2 separate regions of the Homo sapiens genome follow, and region 2 is linked to region 1. Evidence: promoter capture Hi-C in 16 types of primary human blood cells and fetal thymus (Javierre and others, 2016). All regions are on one chromosome and are shown on one strand. The core of a region is centred on a gene start or on the middle of the fragment in contact, and the rest is flanking DNA. Distances in the headings are between cores, read along the strand shown. Region 1 holds the start of CER1 (cerberus 1, DAN family BMP antagonist). Region 2 holds the start of LOC105375977 (a long non-coding RNA gene).

Region 1 (7,463 bases), core at 3,085-5,584:
TCCTTATGAGCATATCTTGGCCAGCTAGGTTGCCTTTGACCACCAAAGGGTATGATAATATATTCCAATGTAAATGCCATGTGTGCATCTGTGTAACTCACATTCATGTTGATGTGTTACAAAATATACACTAAATATAAATGCCTTTGCTTCTTTGGAATGTCATGTTAGATGGTGTGATTAAAGAGGAATAGAATTAAAATATAAATTGATTTATTTAAAAAAAACAGTTATTCTGGGAAATGTGTGTATGTGTGTGCACTAAAAGTAAAAGAAACCTAATTATTAAAATAATTTTTAGGAACAAAAATTTGAATAACTTAATAGAAAAAGCAGTCTGGCTGGGAAAAGGCAGTTCTGTACCATATATGTGTAAAAATTAACACAGACAGGAGAGAGGTGATTGAGAGACTTAAACAGAAGGCTGCTTACAGATCAGAAGAAACCCTTGGTCCAGTGTCATAAGTCTATGAAGACATTCCAGAAATGCTTCCAGCTAGGTTATCTCCTGATAGTACCTTTAAATTATGAGACAAAACAAGTAAGGGAAAAATATAAGAACATTTTTCAGAATGCTTCATATACTAAAATTTAATGCATTAAAATATCCAGAATATTTTCAGAACCTGTAATTTTGGTACTTGCTGAATAAAATTTATAATACAAAGTTTTATTAAATAGCAAAAAACAGTCATTCAAACATAGAAACCTTACTACCTAATTCAAAATGCATGTGAGTAAATAATTTTGCCTGAAGATTGAATTTTTGGGGGTTACTTTCATTAGCATCTCTGGATTGATCTCTAAACCTGGTAGTAGTCATGTATTTTTCCTTCCTCATAATATAGGTACTTGTTTGGCTACCAGTGATTGTTCCTCTTCCCTATATAAACTACTAAAATTAACATCACTGTTCCTTCTTCAAAGTCAGAGACCTGACATTAAGTACTTTATATGAGGAGTATTGTTAAAAAGGAGGCAACCAAGCAAGTTACTCCTTACATCTGTGGAAAGACTTAATCATCAGATAGAAGTCAAGTAAAACACTGTTTGGGTTGCAAAAGTAACTATAAGTATGAGAATCTTTCCTACAAATATTTCACGTAGCCTGCCTCCCTGCCTGCCTGCGTGCCTGCCTGCCTGCCTGCCTGCCTGCCTGCCTGCCTTCCTTCCTTCCTTCCTTCCTTCCTTCCTTCCTTCCTTCCTTCCTTCCTTCCTTCTTTCCTTCCTTCCTTCCTTCCTTCCTCCCTCTCTATCTTGCTTCTTTGCTTGCTGGTGATTTGACACACATTAAAGAAGCCCATTTTTATGGTCTCGCTTATTTCTTTTCCTTCTTTAGATGGAGGGCTTTTACCCAAACTTGGAGAAAATGCATCACGGAATATTAGTAGTGGAAAGGATTTTAGCAATCATCTAGGTCGGGTCCGTCATTTATAGATGAAAATCTTTAGATGGAGAAAGGTTTTACAACTTAACATTCTACGGCTAGTTAGTGGCAGAGCTGAGACAAGGTCTCAAACGTGTACCAATAACTAGACTAATATCATTTCCTCTATCGTTCTAATTTAAAACTACGTTTCAAGTCACCTTTCCCTGAAAATGTTATGTACCCACTTAACATTTTCAGACTGAATAATCAGCATCTTTGCTGTTGTGGTTTTGCTTTTCAAAGGTAATAGTGGGATAGCTCTTCAAGCTGAAACTCCTGGGATAAAGGAATCCTGGGAGCCAGCATGTAGGATGTGTCCATCTTCATGCTCCGTCTTCACCTTGCACTGGCACTCCTCCACCAGCATCACCACCTTGATCACGGAGGAAAGTTCAGTGCAGTTCAGTGGCAAGTGCATCGTGGTGAACTTGGCAGGCAAACAGTGAGAGCAGGAGGTATGGGAGTGCTGCGCGGCTCCAGGAAAATGAACAGACCCGCATTTCCCAAAGCAAAGGTTGTTCTGAACAACTACTTTTTCACAGCCTTCGTGGGTTATAGTCTAAAAAGCAAACACATTTCCATTACGTTATTTTGAATTATTTCTTTAACACACATAATGCAGAAGCTATGGACTGTAAATCTGAGGATAATTTAAAAATTTCAAAGCTTTCCAATTTTGGATACAATTTGCAATATGCAAGTGATGGTATCTATAAGGGCACAGAACCACCTCAATTAAATTTTCTTTATTGAGTAAATTATTAAACAGCCTTTAGGGAATCCCTAAGTTAACATAAAAAATATTTTACTCTACATTATTCGTGCAAAACCTTAAGCAATTTTGTCTAATTGGATGTGAGCGATTGAAAAATTCTAATGGTAATTATCTTACATAAGTAATGTGCCTTACTTTTTTATTCCTCACAGGGCTTTGTGCATAGTAGGCTCCCAATACATATTTGTTACATTGATCGTAGAATAGATCAGAACATTCTAGGTTTAATTCTATCCTATTCTGCAAGACCTGTAGTACATTCAAGTCTATGAAGTTGTATGCAAGCAGAGTTACAATGCATATGCCTGCAAATCATTGTATATTACATCACCTTTACCTCTCATAACTCCAAGCACCTAGCTTTATATGCCTTTCAAAATATGTAAGAGTCAAACATCTTAGTTTTAATTTAATTAGCAATAGAATTCAAAAGAAGAATTTCAAAAGAAATTTGATTGCCTGATTCTTAGGGGTAATTTTCTAATTGCACATGGCCAACAGAGTAGTCATTATTATTTGATAATTGACTTGCCATTGCTACATATCCTTGCCTTTTCAGGCAGAATACTTAACTGCCTTGAACAGTCAATTGCCCTATTCTATTGCTTGCTTAATTGGGTAGCATTACTCGACTATAAAATTTTACTCTACCCTGCATGTTTTTGGTTCAATATCTTCATGTTTAAGGACCTAATGCAAGTTCTCAATTTTAATTTAACATTTGGAATGTAGATATTGCCAGAGGAAGTAGACAGTAGGATGTCCCTTTGTCTTAATAGCATGGAATTGATCATAATAACTACAAATCAGCCAACACAACATGAATCAGGAGAAAGGTACTTCTAAGGGGAGGAGATATGATCTCACATCAAGATTGATTTTTTAAAAAGCTCATATGAGAAAATAAGTGAAAGAAAATCACTTTTTTGCTATCATAATACTAGAAATGATATGACAACTTTTGCCTGAGAACCTCAACGTACTTTGAGGTTGTGGGATAGCTTTAGCAAGCTATTAAAGAAGTCCCTCATAAACCTATAAAGTAATTAAGTATGGACTATGGGGATTAAGACCATCGTAAATGGATATGAGAGTATTTGGGAAGGAGTCCAATGCACCCCACTTTATCAACAAATGGAGTTGACCTGCTCATCCACATATTAATAGAGTGCAGAAAGATAGCTACAGAGGAGTTCTGGTGATTACTCTAAATTCTCAGTTTCCTAACTGAGGGTACAGTCTGACTTATATCTCTGAGTAGATCACCTCCAATGCAAAAATAAATAAATAAAACAGAGCTCTGTGTCTTCAGTGTGAATGAATGATTACTGATATTGACAGTATCATCATATCATTCTTGCAGCATTTCCACAATGCCAAGAAAAAATGGAAAGGCCAGAAGGAAACTTAATCTTTGCCAAATCCTATGATGAATGCCCAAGGACCAAATCTGTAGTTAAGCTAGAGTCAGGCTCCTGACAGCCTTTTCCCCTACTCTCCATCCATCCCAGCTGTCCACTACCACCTGCAAACTCTTACCTGCTCTCCCCCCAGAACACATACCTGGCTGAAGGGCACTGTCCTGCAGGTCTCCCAATGTACTTCATGGCTTTTGATGGGCAAGATGACCCCCTGAGAAGCCGGAGTTTTTCTGAACATGAAGTGGTGCCAGAATTTCTTGGCTTCTTCCCGAAGAGGAGATTTCTCCATTTTCATTCCATCTATCGGCTGGATGAGGGACTGGGTCCCAGGTGGGAAGGGCTCACTATCTGAGTCCCTGGATGGATGCATTTCTCTCTCAGGCTTCTTCCAGAACCTGCCAAATCTGGACAGCATCTTCTCTCTCTGCCTCTGGCCTTCCCCTGCAGGGCTGGTGGCTACAAGGTGTGGCACTGCGACAAACAGATCTGGCTTCTCCTCAGCTTCCTCATGGTTGCCTGTGGGAAGCTCTCTTTGATTCCTTGGCAGGAGTACGGGGGAAAGAGAACTCTGATTCTGGCGGCCATCCTGGTGCCGTGTGGTCTTTCCTAGAGGCAGGAGTACCAGCAGCTGAAATAAGAGGAGATGCATGCTGTCAGGGGCCCAAGCTTCTTTTGTAAATGATGAGGCCCAAAGGAGAGGCTCATTCTCTGCAGGACTGGGAAAAAGGAAATCGTATATATAGATACCTGCCTGGCGGGATGGGAAGGCAGGTGGTCAGTAGCCAGGCAGAATAAACACATTTATTGTTTGCTTGAATTATGTAGTGCTAATGGCCTCCTGCCGTCACTTTGGTTTTGTGTATTTTAAAAGGCCCCAGTGAAAGCCTGGGACCCAGGGGGTAATTAGCTAAGAGTTTAGCTATGTCTGGGGCTTAAAGAGCAGTATTAGCAAAGACAACACATTCTTTGCCTAAATTTCCCATGGCTGTTTTCAGAAGAAGGACTAGAGTCAGCTCACATTTGCTGTGCATCTGCCTTGTGCTGGAATAGAATAGACAAGACATGTTGCTGTAAGAGAAGTTTTTGGATAAAAATTAAAGGCATACATTTAGAAAAAGCCCAGGCCTTTAGGAAGGCTATTCACACACACACACACACACACACACACACACACACACACACACACACGAAGAAGTATATCAAAGTTGTAAGGAGAAGAAAGGAAGAGCTAGAAGGATGTTAATTTTTTTGAGCAAGGGACATATTGTTTCTTACTTACATGCAAATTGGGGTTATTGATTTTTGCACAGTAACTGAGTAAAGGGAATATGTTTTCCTTTCCACACGTAGAAACTCACAATTCCCAAGTTAATCCTCTCACATTAAGAATCAATTAATGGGTGCTAAATTTCACAACTGGTCAGTCATCAGATAAACTCTTCCAATTGTTCACATGTTCCTCAACAGGATACCACGTAATAGACTGACAGCTCATCAGTCTTCAATGAGGATAGGGAAATGTCTCCCTCCAGCCATCCTATTGATTTTTTTTTCCCTTTGAACAAAGAGCCAGACATGAGAACGTGGATTCTAAGAACCAGGTTTGATAACTTTGTGTGTGACGCTGGCTAGTCAGTTTCTTACCTTATTGAATCCACATCATCTCCCCTTGTTTTACACTAATTGATGGCCAGGCTAAATAAAGATTGACACAAATAAGAGTCTTCGGGGATCAAAGGAAAAATTGAAAAATAACTATCATTCAAAACTATCATGAATCAGCCTAGGATACGAAAAAGAAACACGTCCAGAAAACTGAAACCCCAGAATAGAGTCCGATCAGCCTACCACATGATTCAAACAGTATTTCCACTGGGAAGCAATGCAATATCTGCTTTTATTTCTCCCCTTTTAATTCAATCACTATATTCCTTGCTTTCAATAACACAAATAGTCCTGGAACATGTTCCCCCTTTTTTGTCAATACTGATTAAACTTTCTTTCCAAGAAGTGACCCACTGGAGTCTGTTTTCCAGGCATTTCTGTTCTTCTTGATAGCCATGCCTGATTTCTATGAAATAAAGCCTTAAGTAAGTCCCTTTACCCATGATAATGAGCTATTTTTAACATGGACCATCACTTTACCAGAATGCCATGAGTGGAGATATATTGTACTTGTACCAAATATCTATGGAACGTGTGCTAGTATTAATGAAAGGTGCTGTTGATATATAATAAATAAGCATGTGTATTTGCCATTGTTTTTTTTTATTTTAGGAAAAGGGTTCTGCTCTGTTGCCCAGTCTGGAGTGCAGTGGTGCAATCATAGCACTCTGTAACCTCAAACTCCTAGGCTCAAGCAAGCCTCCTGAGTAGCTGGGACTACAGGCACACTACCACACCTGGCTATTTAAAATTTTGTGTTGTTGTTGAAACAGAGCCTCACTCTGTTGCCCAAGCTGCTCTGAAACTCTTAGCCTTGAGCCACCATCTTGCCTCTGCCTCCCAAAGTGCTGGGATTACAGGCGTGAGCCACCATGCTATGTCAACATCTTTTTTTTTTTAATTGACTGCTACTTGAATTTCTTAATTCCCCTCAGCCATCCAATGCTATACGCTTTCCAGAGCTAGTCACTAGGCCTCCTGGTATAATATGGTGTGGAAGCCAGCTGTGATACCTTTCCTGAATCCTTTTAACTGTTACTTTTCAGTAACTGAAATTCCATTGTTATCAATCAGAGTATCTACTATTTCCCAAAACTAAAGACAATCTCAGAAATTCTATCTCGGGTCTCAGTTTGCTTGGCTCTGGAATTACTGAACATGAGATACAGTTGAGATAATTCCTGTTGAACTGCAATGTGTAGAAGACTCACTTTGTGTGTTAAGAATCATATTAGATACTGGTAGATAATTGAAAAATGAGTAAAACTTTGTCCCTGCCCTCAAGTAGGTTAGATAGTCTAGTGGGATTTCTTATGCATCATCTAACTTTATTGTATAAAATCATCTATAGGGATGTCAGTTATCCATTTTTCACTTTCCTTTAGTCCTAAACTTCCCTTCCTCTGATCCTAATTTGGGGCTTATAAGTGCCATTTAAAAATCACTCACAGAGAATATCCTTTTGCTGTTCTGTCACTTCTTTTGAGAAAATGTGCAAATATCTTGAAATATTCTCCCTACTCCCATTAGTAAATACTATCCGTGAAAAGTAAATCTAGCAAAGCCAAGCCTTCTGTGATGAGAACTATGAAACAAGCCTATCTCCAACCTCTGCCTTTTTCAGCTAAAGGCAATGACTATCACCTTTCACTATCGTGTCCATTCACCAATTCTAAAGCCATTGATACACTGTGTGTGTATAATTATGTGTGTATAATTATGTATGTATAACATGTAATATATGTATAATGTAATACATTATAATCTCTTAAGAAAATAAGTGAAGATTTTGTAGCTTTCAGCAAAAATATGCTGCCTCTGTTGGTCTTCAGTTGATACAGGCATCTAGTTACCTCCCAATTTGGATGAACCAAATGGAAATGGAAGTAGGTCTGCAGGAGGTCTCCAGACCCAGTAGGAAGCTTTCATGAGGAGACAGCATCGCCAATTATTAGTGCACTTAGTACCAAATGCCACAGTGAAGGGTGAGCCTGAGTTCATGTGAGTGAGCCCAAGCCTCCTAAGTCCACTTCCTGGGCCAACCCTAGACATGCATGAGAACCAGAGGGGCCAATCCCAGAATCCATTCATTTCCATTTACAGTTCAGGCTTTCAGCAGAATCTGACTGTTTTCAACTTGACTTGGGTTTCTTAGGCACTAAGATGTCTTCAG
Region 2 (7,463 bases), core at 3,626-6,125, 1.3 Mb before region 1:
TCCCCAGGTGATTCTAGTGTGCAACCAAGGATTTCAACAACTGGTGGAAAAGTCGAAAACTGAATGAACACTCAGTAAATATTTTCCAGCTTTCCTTGTCTATGTGGTATGAACATTAGCCTAATTAGGATGCAGATTTTTATTACTCAAAAAAATTCTCAAGGTCAGTTCAAATCTTCATGCCTTGAAGGTAAAGAAGATGAAACCAGGAGGTTAGTGGACTCTGGTCATATTGTTAGTGGTGGCAATAAGACTGGGATCCCAGTATTCCTTTTAGAATTTCAGAGTTGTCCTTCCTAACACACCTTTTAACAGGGAAAGAGTTCTCAGATGAGGCTAAGCTGATCTTTCCTTTTCAGCAGTATTTTATGGCAATGAGGATAAAACTAGTGTCAGAAGCGAAGGATTAAACCTTTATCATCTTCATCTTGGTCTAGTAGCATTCATTCATCGAAATTTTTGAGCAGAAAAAACAAACCTCAGCCCTGCTTCCACATGGAGGGCAATGCATATGTAATGTGGCTTCTGAAATTTGGTGTCTTAAGGCTTCTCCATCTCACTGAGGATTTCCTGTGCAATTGATATGGAAAATCTGAGTGATTTACCACAACACAGTTATGAGCCATCATACAGGTGCATTTAATTTTTAATTACTCTTAAAAATGTTTTTAATAATTAGTAGCAATAACCACTAATTGGCATATAAGCCATTCTTGCACCAGCAGGCAAACTGTAGGTTTACTTCAGCACACCCACACCCAATCAACTGAAAATTGCTTGAATGCTTATCTTATAATTACTGTGCTTAATGCTGTTTGCATTGTTTGGAAGCTTTTGTGATTAATTGATTTTTTTTTCTTTTTTTTACCTCTGAACCTGTAAATGAATGGCAAAGATTAGTCTTCTGCTCAGTGACATCTTATTTACATTGAGTTGTTAGGCACATTAAAGGGGAAAAATTATGGATTTTGTTTTTACATGCCAAGTGTATTTCCTCTGTTTATGCTATGGTTATATAGACCCCATATAGAAGTTGAAACTGCTCTTACTACCTGCATGTCTTGTGCCAACGCTATGCAGAATGGCACAATTACATTTTTAGGCCAACTATTAACCTCTACGCACCTTTATACCTTCCACTTATTTTTCTGGGTAAAGGGCAATAATTTGAGAATGCCTCTATTTAAATAGAGGCCAACATAATTCAAGTTGTTTAGTTTATTCCTTGAGCATCAATAATTGATATATATGCATGCTAGTAATTGTGCTTTTGATCTGAAAGTGGCAGTCACAATTAAGCTCAGAAACAATCATAAAATAAACGAGATTATTGGTATGCTAAGGCAATGTTTGAAATAGATGATAGATCTGCCAATGTTTTCATAGTACTAAATGGCAAATAAAATTTTATGATGACAGAGGCAAAGGATAAAAATGTGACTTTATAATTGTAGGCCATTTTATATTGGTGATGAACTAATGAAGACATGGACGTGGATATTTCTTACTCTGTTTATTCACTCACTGTAAAGTTATTGGGAATATGATGTGCCAAGGAATGTGCTAGACAATGAGGATATGGAAAAAATAAGTCATTGTGGGAAAATGTGGTCTTGGGAATTAGAAAAAGTCAGTGAGAAAATCTTGGTCCCATAACTAGTAACTGTGTCTAAGACATTAAGAAAATTAACTGATGTCTCAGAAAATAATTTTTGTCATCTGAAAAGGGAGAGTATTACCTACCTTGAAAGCTCATTGTGAAAATTAAATGAAATACTATACATAAGTATTTTGTACTTGGTTGGTGTGCAGTATTTAATGCATGCCTGCTATAGTTTTAATTAGACCAAAGAATCACAGTTCAGTGAGAGAATGCGATACACCTATCTCTTGCAGGGTTCTTTGATTGCAGGCAACAGAAACTCAGAGGATCAACTAGAACACTGGAGAATCAGGCTTGAAAACAGAGGAAGAACTAGGCATATATGTAAGGATTTGGGTACCAGGAACTTCTCAACGGTTTTGGAGGGCACTGCTGGTGTACAAATGCATTCAAAATTCCCTCCTTATTTTTGTATTTTTGTTCTCAAGATTGAAAGTCAGAGAGTGAGGAGAAGAGAAAGAGACAGAGAGAGACAGAGAAAGGGGGAACTATGGATGCCACTATAAAATAAACGGTGATGAGTGATTAATAACCCAAAGTCCACACAAAATATTATGTAACACAGAAACTGATTACAGTGCCATGAGTAGGGTTGCCTCCATGGACATGTCATTTTGCAATTACAAAGGGCCCTATGCCTAGCAGGCCCTACACTTTGTTTAATGTTCTGTGTCACCATTTTGAAATTCTTAATAATTTATGAACAAGGGGCTCCACATTTTCATTTTGCTTTGGCTGCACAAATTTCATAGCTGGTCCTGGTCCCACGTTCTAGAGTGGGGGTCTAGTGCTGTAGAAGCACAGAGAAGGGAGAACATCCAGGTAGGGATTCATACAAAGACCAAGGAAGGGTTCAAGGAATGAGAGTTAAAGTTTCAGGCAGAGATGGCCACATGGAGAAATGGGAGAGGGCATTTAGATGATGAAAACCTAGAAACAGAAGCCATCAGCAGTTCTTATTATGAAAGATATTAAGCACAGTTCTGGCATAATTTCCACTGAGTCATTCTCTTTAAGAGCCGTAAAGCAACTAAATTATGATTATAGATTGGAGAAAACTCCCTCTGTCTAGAAGTCTGCAAAACAACAGAGGAGGCCTGCAAGAACTATAGGCAGAATCCCACCAGAGCTAAAAAAAAAAAAAGTGGTGTGTTTTTAGGCCACTAGAAACTTATGACTTAACTGTCATCTGGGTCTTCCTTCTACCCAGCCTCCTCCTGAAGTCACTGGAGTAAGAGCTGTCCCCAGTATGGAATCCTGTCTTCTTGGCACCGAGCTCATGTATTTATGGTAGTGCTTTTGAGTGGGACTGTGGGGTGAAGAAGCAGAGCAGTTTAGTTGCTTTCCATGTATTACTTTAGAATTTATGCAACTCTGCTTCTCAGTGTTCCCGTAGACCATGACTTCTCCCATTCTTTTATCAAACGTTTTTATAGAATCTCAGGATTCTAGCTCAACTCTTTTCCAAGGTATGAAAATCCTTAATGTGCTCCTCCAGTGCATTCCAGTTTTCCTTTTTTTTTTTTTTTTGAGATGGAGTCTTGCTCTGTCACCAAGGCTGGAGTGAAGTGGCACAATCTCGGCTCACTGCAGCCTCCACCTCCTGGGCTCAAGCGATTCTCCTCCCTCAGCCTCCCAAGTAGCTGGGACCACAGGTGCGCGCCATCATGTCCGGCTAATTTTTGTATTTTCAGTAGAGATGGAGTTTTGCCATGTTGGCCAGGCTGGTCTCGAACTCCTGACCTCAAGTGATGCACCTGTCTCGATCTCCCAAAGTGCTGAGATTACAGGCGTAAGCCACTGCGCCAGTCCTGGGTAGATTTAATTGTCAAAAATTTCTTTCTATTGAGCTGAATTTGCCCTCTCTGTAACATTCACTAAGACATGTTTCGGAGTCACCCAGATTAAGCCTGACTCCTCTTCCTTATGCAAATTGAAAACATGTTCTCTAATTACAGTGAAAATGTTATTTGCCCTGCCCCATTCCAGTGAGAAAACATGTATAAGATTTCCTTTAAAGAAAGCTTCTTAGAGTAGTTTGAGACTCTCCTATTAGCTGAATAGGATATGGTATGGTATGTTTCCAGGATAGCACAGACCTGGAAGTTTCCCCTACAGATTCACTTTGTCTTCTAAACTTCATACTCTCTATGGGAAACAACTTCTCCATTCCCTCTGTCATATGTAATGCACCAGGCACATATCCAGCTGAAGCCATTGCATGGGAGACAGAGCCAGTCACAAACACACTTGTGTCAGGAAGGATAGCCCAGACATTCGCCATCTGTGTCTCAGCTTTCTCCTGCTCTCTTCTTAGGTTGCTTGTCTAGGGACACACCCACACACTATTTCCCACCCACCCTGACAATGGGAAAATTGGCACATTGCACAATTTTTGAGAGAGGCCTATTGTACAAGATTTCCCCTGAATTATAGTGAGTTTTTTCAAGGATATGCTGGAGTATCATGCATTCAGATGGGTGAGTTGAAGTTAATCTACTCAATAATAACAACAAAATCATCTTCAGGATGACTTTGTTTGTTTTGTAGGGAAATCAAGTCAATGCCTACAGGCTTTTTTTCATGAGCATAAACATTCGTTGCTTAAAAGGGAATTAGAATTGTACATATTTGTATATTTTCCAGAGAGTCATATTGACCAAGGCCTCTTCTACAACCAAGAACAGAATACCATGTCTCCTTTTCTTGAGTTGCATGGCAATATGCCGCCTCTTAATGCTGAAACCAAAACCATGGCATTGTGCTCCCCTAGCCCTTGAATATCAGTTTCAGGAATACAATAAGAGATCGCCCAATTTTCTCCCCTTGATCATCTCTTTCTCACTTCTTATGCTCTAATTTTCTTTGTAGTTTTTTTGCACTTGATTATTTGATCCCTAGCCAAGGAAGAACTGTTTAATCAGGAAGGACTTAACTGGAATTGAGATGATATCAGCAACAGATACAGAAATTCAGAGAATGTAAGGTAGAGCTAATTATTAAAATAGAAGCTAGACTATTTATAGAGCACCTACGCTGAGCCATGCTCTCTGATGGGAATGAAGCATACATTTTCTTTAATACTGCCTTGCAACTCGCGGGCAGAAATTATACATTTTAAAGATAAGTAAAAAGTAAACTGAGGCCCCAAACATTTATATAATTATCCTTAATTCAGCTTGCTTTTAAATGGTGGAGGTAGGATTCAAAGACATTTGACCTAACTTCTAAAGTTAATGTTTCAAGTGAAGAAATGAATAAAAAATTCTGGTCTTGAAATACTTGGACTTGGCTGCATGTGATTTATACTATCTTATAATGCTACAAGATGCAGTGTGCATGCATATATCACATTATTTCTGGTGTAATCTGGAATTCCTTTAGCTAAATATTGAACTTCTAAGATTTTATAATGGTGATCAAGATTTTGGTAACAAATGTCTTGCTTTAAACCATTCCAGACTGGATGACAAGGACATTTATATGTGGAGCTATAGTTGATTTTGCAACAGGGAACCATAATTTTTGTTAATTCTGCTTAATGCTGTTGGCACGGTCATTTGTTTTCTTGTAGCGAAGATTGAAAAAATTAAAATATATATTAAAATATATTTTGGATGTACACATTTATATCTGTTTATTTTTGTTGGAGAAAATATAGAGCTGTATTCAGAGGTAATCTTTAGCTTCAACTCCATTTACTATTTCAAAAGTCATTCACAGTGTTAAATCACAATGTGCTTCCCTTTTCTTTTTTTGGCCTAAGCATTCTATGTTTCCCTGTTCTTTTTTGCCTGCCTTAATAAAATAGAATGTCAGTCCTCTAAGGATGACAATGCAGGGAGAATTAAAATATAGGTAGGATGGCCAGATTGGGCAACTATAACGTAGGTCCAGCAGGGCTGTCCCCTCTGTGAAGGAATTACTCATTCCTTGGCCACATTCGAGGGGGCTAGATTTGCTTTTATTAATTGAACTAGCAGGTGACAGCAGTAGAGTAATACAGACTTATCTAATACAACACAAATAGAGGCTCAGAGATCCATCCCAGGGGGAGAGTCTCTATTACCAAATTTGGAGGATCCGGGCTTAGTATTCTTAGAGGAGCTAGTGGATTTTCTTGCTAGTATTACAGCTGGCTAGTATGTAAGTATTAGAAGGTTAGTTTCCTTAGAAATGATCTAAAATAGGAATTATAGGCAAGAGAAGGAAAGGCTAACAAGGCTAACATGTACTTTTTAAAAATCCAGGTTTTTCTTATTTCCCAAGGTCATTGGGAAATTCAAATCAGAACAAGATGTGAAATCACAATTCAAATAGTAAAGAATTAAACTAGCTGGTGACAAATAGATGTATATTATAGTCTGATTTAATAGTCATAAATCCTAATATCTGGTTGGAAAGCTTTTTTGGCTTTGCTTGTAAAATGTGTTGTTTGTGTTTATTGCTGGAGTTAGGTCATGGTGTGGCTGCTAGGACTCTGGGTTCTCAAGTAAGAGGAAGCTTACATTCTTCACAAGCTTCCCCACAATGTGATCTTAAATGCTTTATCATGTTTGCTGTCTGAGATGTGATAAAAATGCCCATATAGGGTTTGGTAAGGAGCACATGAATTAATATACGGAAAGCATTTAGAAAGTAGCTTGGCTCAGGCTAAGTGCTCAGAATTGTTCTGTGTTATTTACCATTAAGCAGATAGAATATTAAATATTTTCAACACTCATCCATAAAAGTCTTTGGTGCTAAAGAACCTTTGTAGTGCCTGGGTATTTTACTTCTACGAAGACTTCAGCTGAGAAGCACTTCGTTCTGAATGGTGTTGATATTGAGGACAGTAGGCAGGGGAAAGGCATAACTTCAGCTCCCAAGAGAAAAACTCCATGCACTTCTGTGCCTTGGTTAAAAAAAAAAAAATGATTAACTTATTCTATGGAAGGGATTAAAATACTCTGGAGAGCCAAGAAGTTTGATTGTCCACAGAGAGGAAGCCATATATCCCTGAACACACGTCTGTGGTCTGTCACAAACCAGGGTTGGAACTGCAGAACTCTTAGACACCGTTGTTCTGAGAGAGCGAGGAATTGTGACTAGGGATTGCGAATGCAGCCTTAGGACATAGTTACACTCAGCTGTGTGGTGGTCCCAGTATTTCATTCTGTGGCACCTTGACTGGACATAGTGGCATTACATGTAGGAGGCAAATTCTCTCCAACATGAGGTGCTGAAACAACTTTCACACTTCTCAGTTCTTCTGCCCTGGTCTTCAGTTCCTCCGTGTCACTTTTTTCTTTGTAGTATCAATAGACATCTTCAGGAAACTTTTGAATTACTTTTAAAGATTTATGTTATAATAGATAACCAGACTTATAAATGATCTCTCAACTTTCCCTACTTTTATAGGTAAAGAAAGCAGGAAACTGTGACTAAATGAAGATCACAGAGCCAGTTGATCAGTGGGGAAGCTGCATCTGAAATCCAGGACTTCTAGATCCTGGGTCAACTGGTAAGCAGAAAGATCTACTAGTAACATACTGGATTTATTAGATAATAATATGATGTTGATTATTAAGGCAGTAAATATTTTTGAATACTTATTATATACCAGCCATTGTTTTAAGTGCTTTTTATTTACTAATTCATATAGTTCTTTTCATAAGACTATGAGGGAGGTATTATCATTATTCCCATTTTACAGATGGATAAACTGACATATGGTGAGATTGAGTAACTTGCCCAAACTCACACAGGTGTTAAGTCACGTAACTAGGATTTGATTTCATATAATCCAACTCCTGAGTCC

What was found. The method cuts DNA at HindIII sites, captures the fragments that hold promoters and counts their contacts. A CHiCAGO score of 5 or more calls a contact.
Region 2: a contact is called between a fragment that was not itself captured here and the fragment with the promoter of CER1 in region 1, in 1 of 17 cell types (M2 macrophages). The highest score is 7.4, in M2 macrophages.

What each region holds. Positions count from the first base shown.
Region 1 is chr9:14,718,399-14,725,861 of GRCh38, forward strand. CER1 (cerberus 1, DAN family BMP antagonist) reads right to left here and starts at 4,335. Exons shown (of 2, transcript NM_005454.3): 1 at 3,768-4,335; 2 at 1,326-1,988. The coding sequence starts at 4,274. The coding sequence ends at 1,692. RefSeq lists enhancers at 3,483-4,422, 4,423-5,360. The HindIII fragment of the contact is 2,921 bases long and covers 4,290-7,210 here.
Region 2 is chr9:13,434,116-13,441,578 of GRCh38, forward strand. It overlaps LOC105375977 (a long non-coding RNA gene), which reads left to right and starts at 6,620. Exons shown (of 4, transcript XR_929484.3): 1 at 6,620-6,881; 2 at 7,064-7,166. The HindIII fragment of the contact is 2,380 bases long and covers 3,686-6,065 here.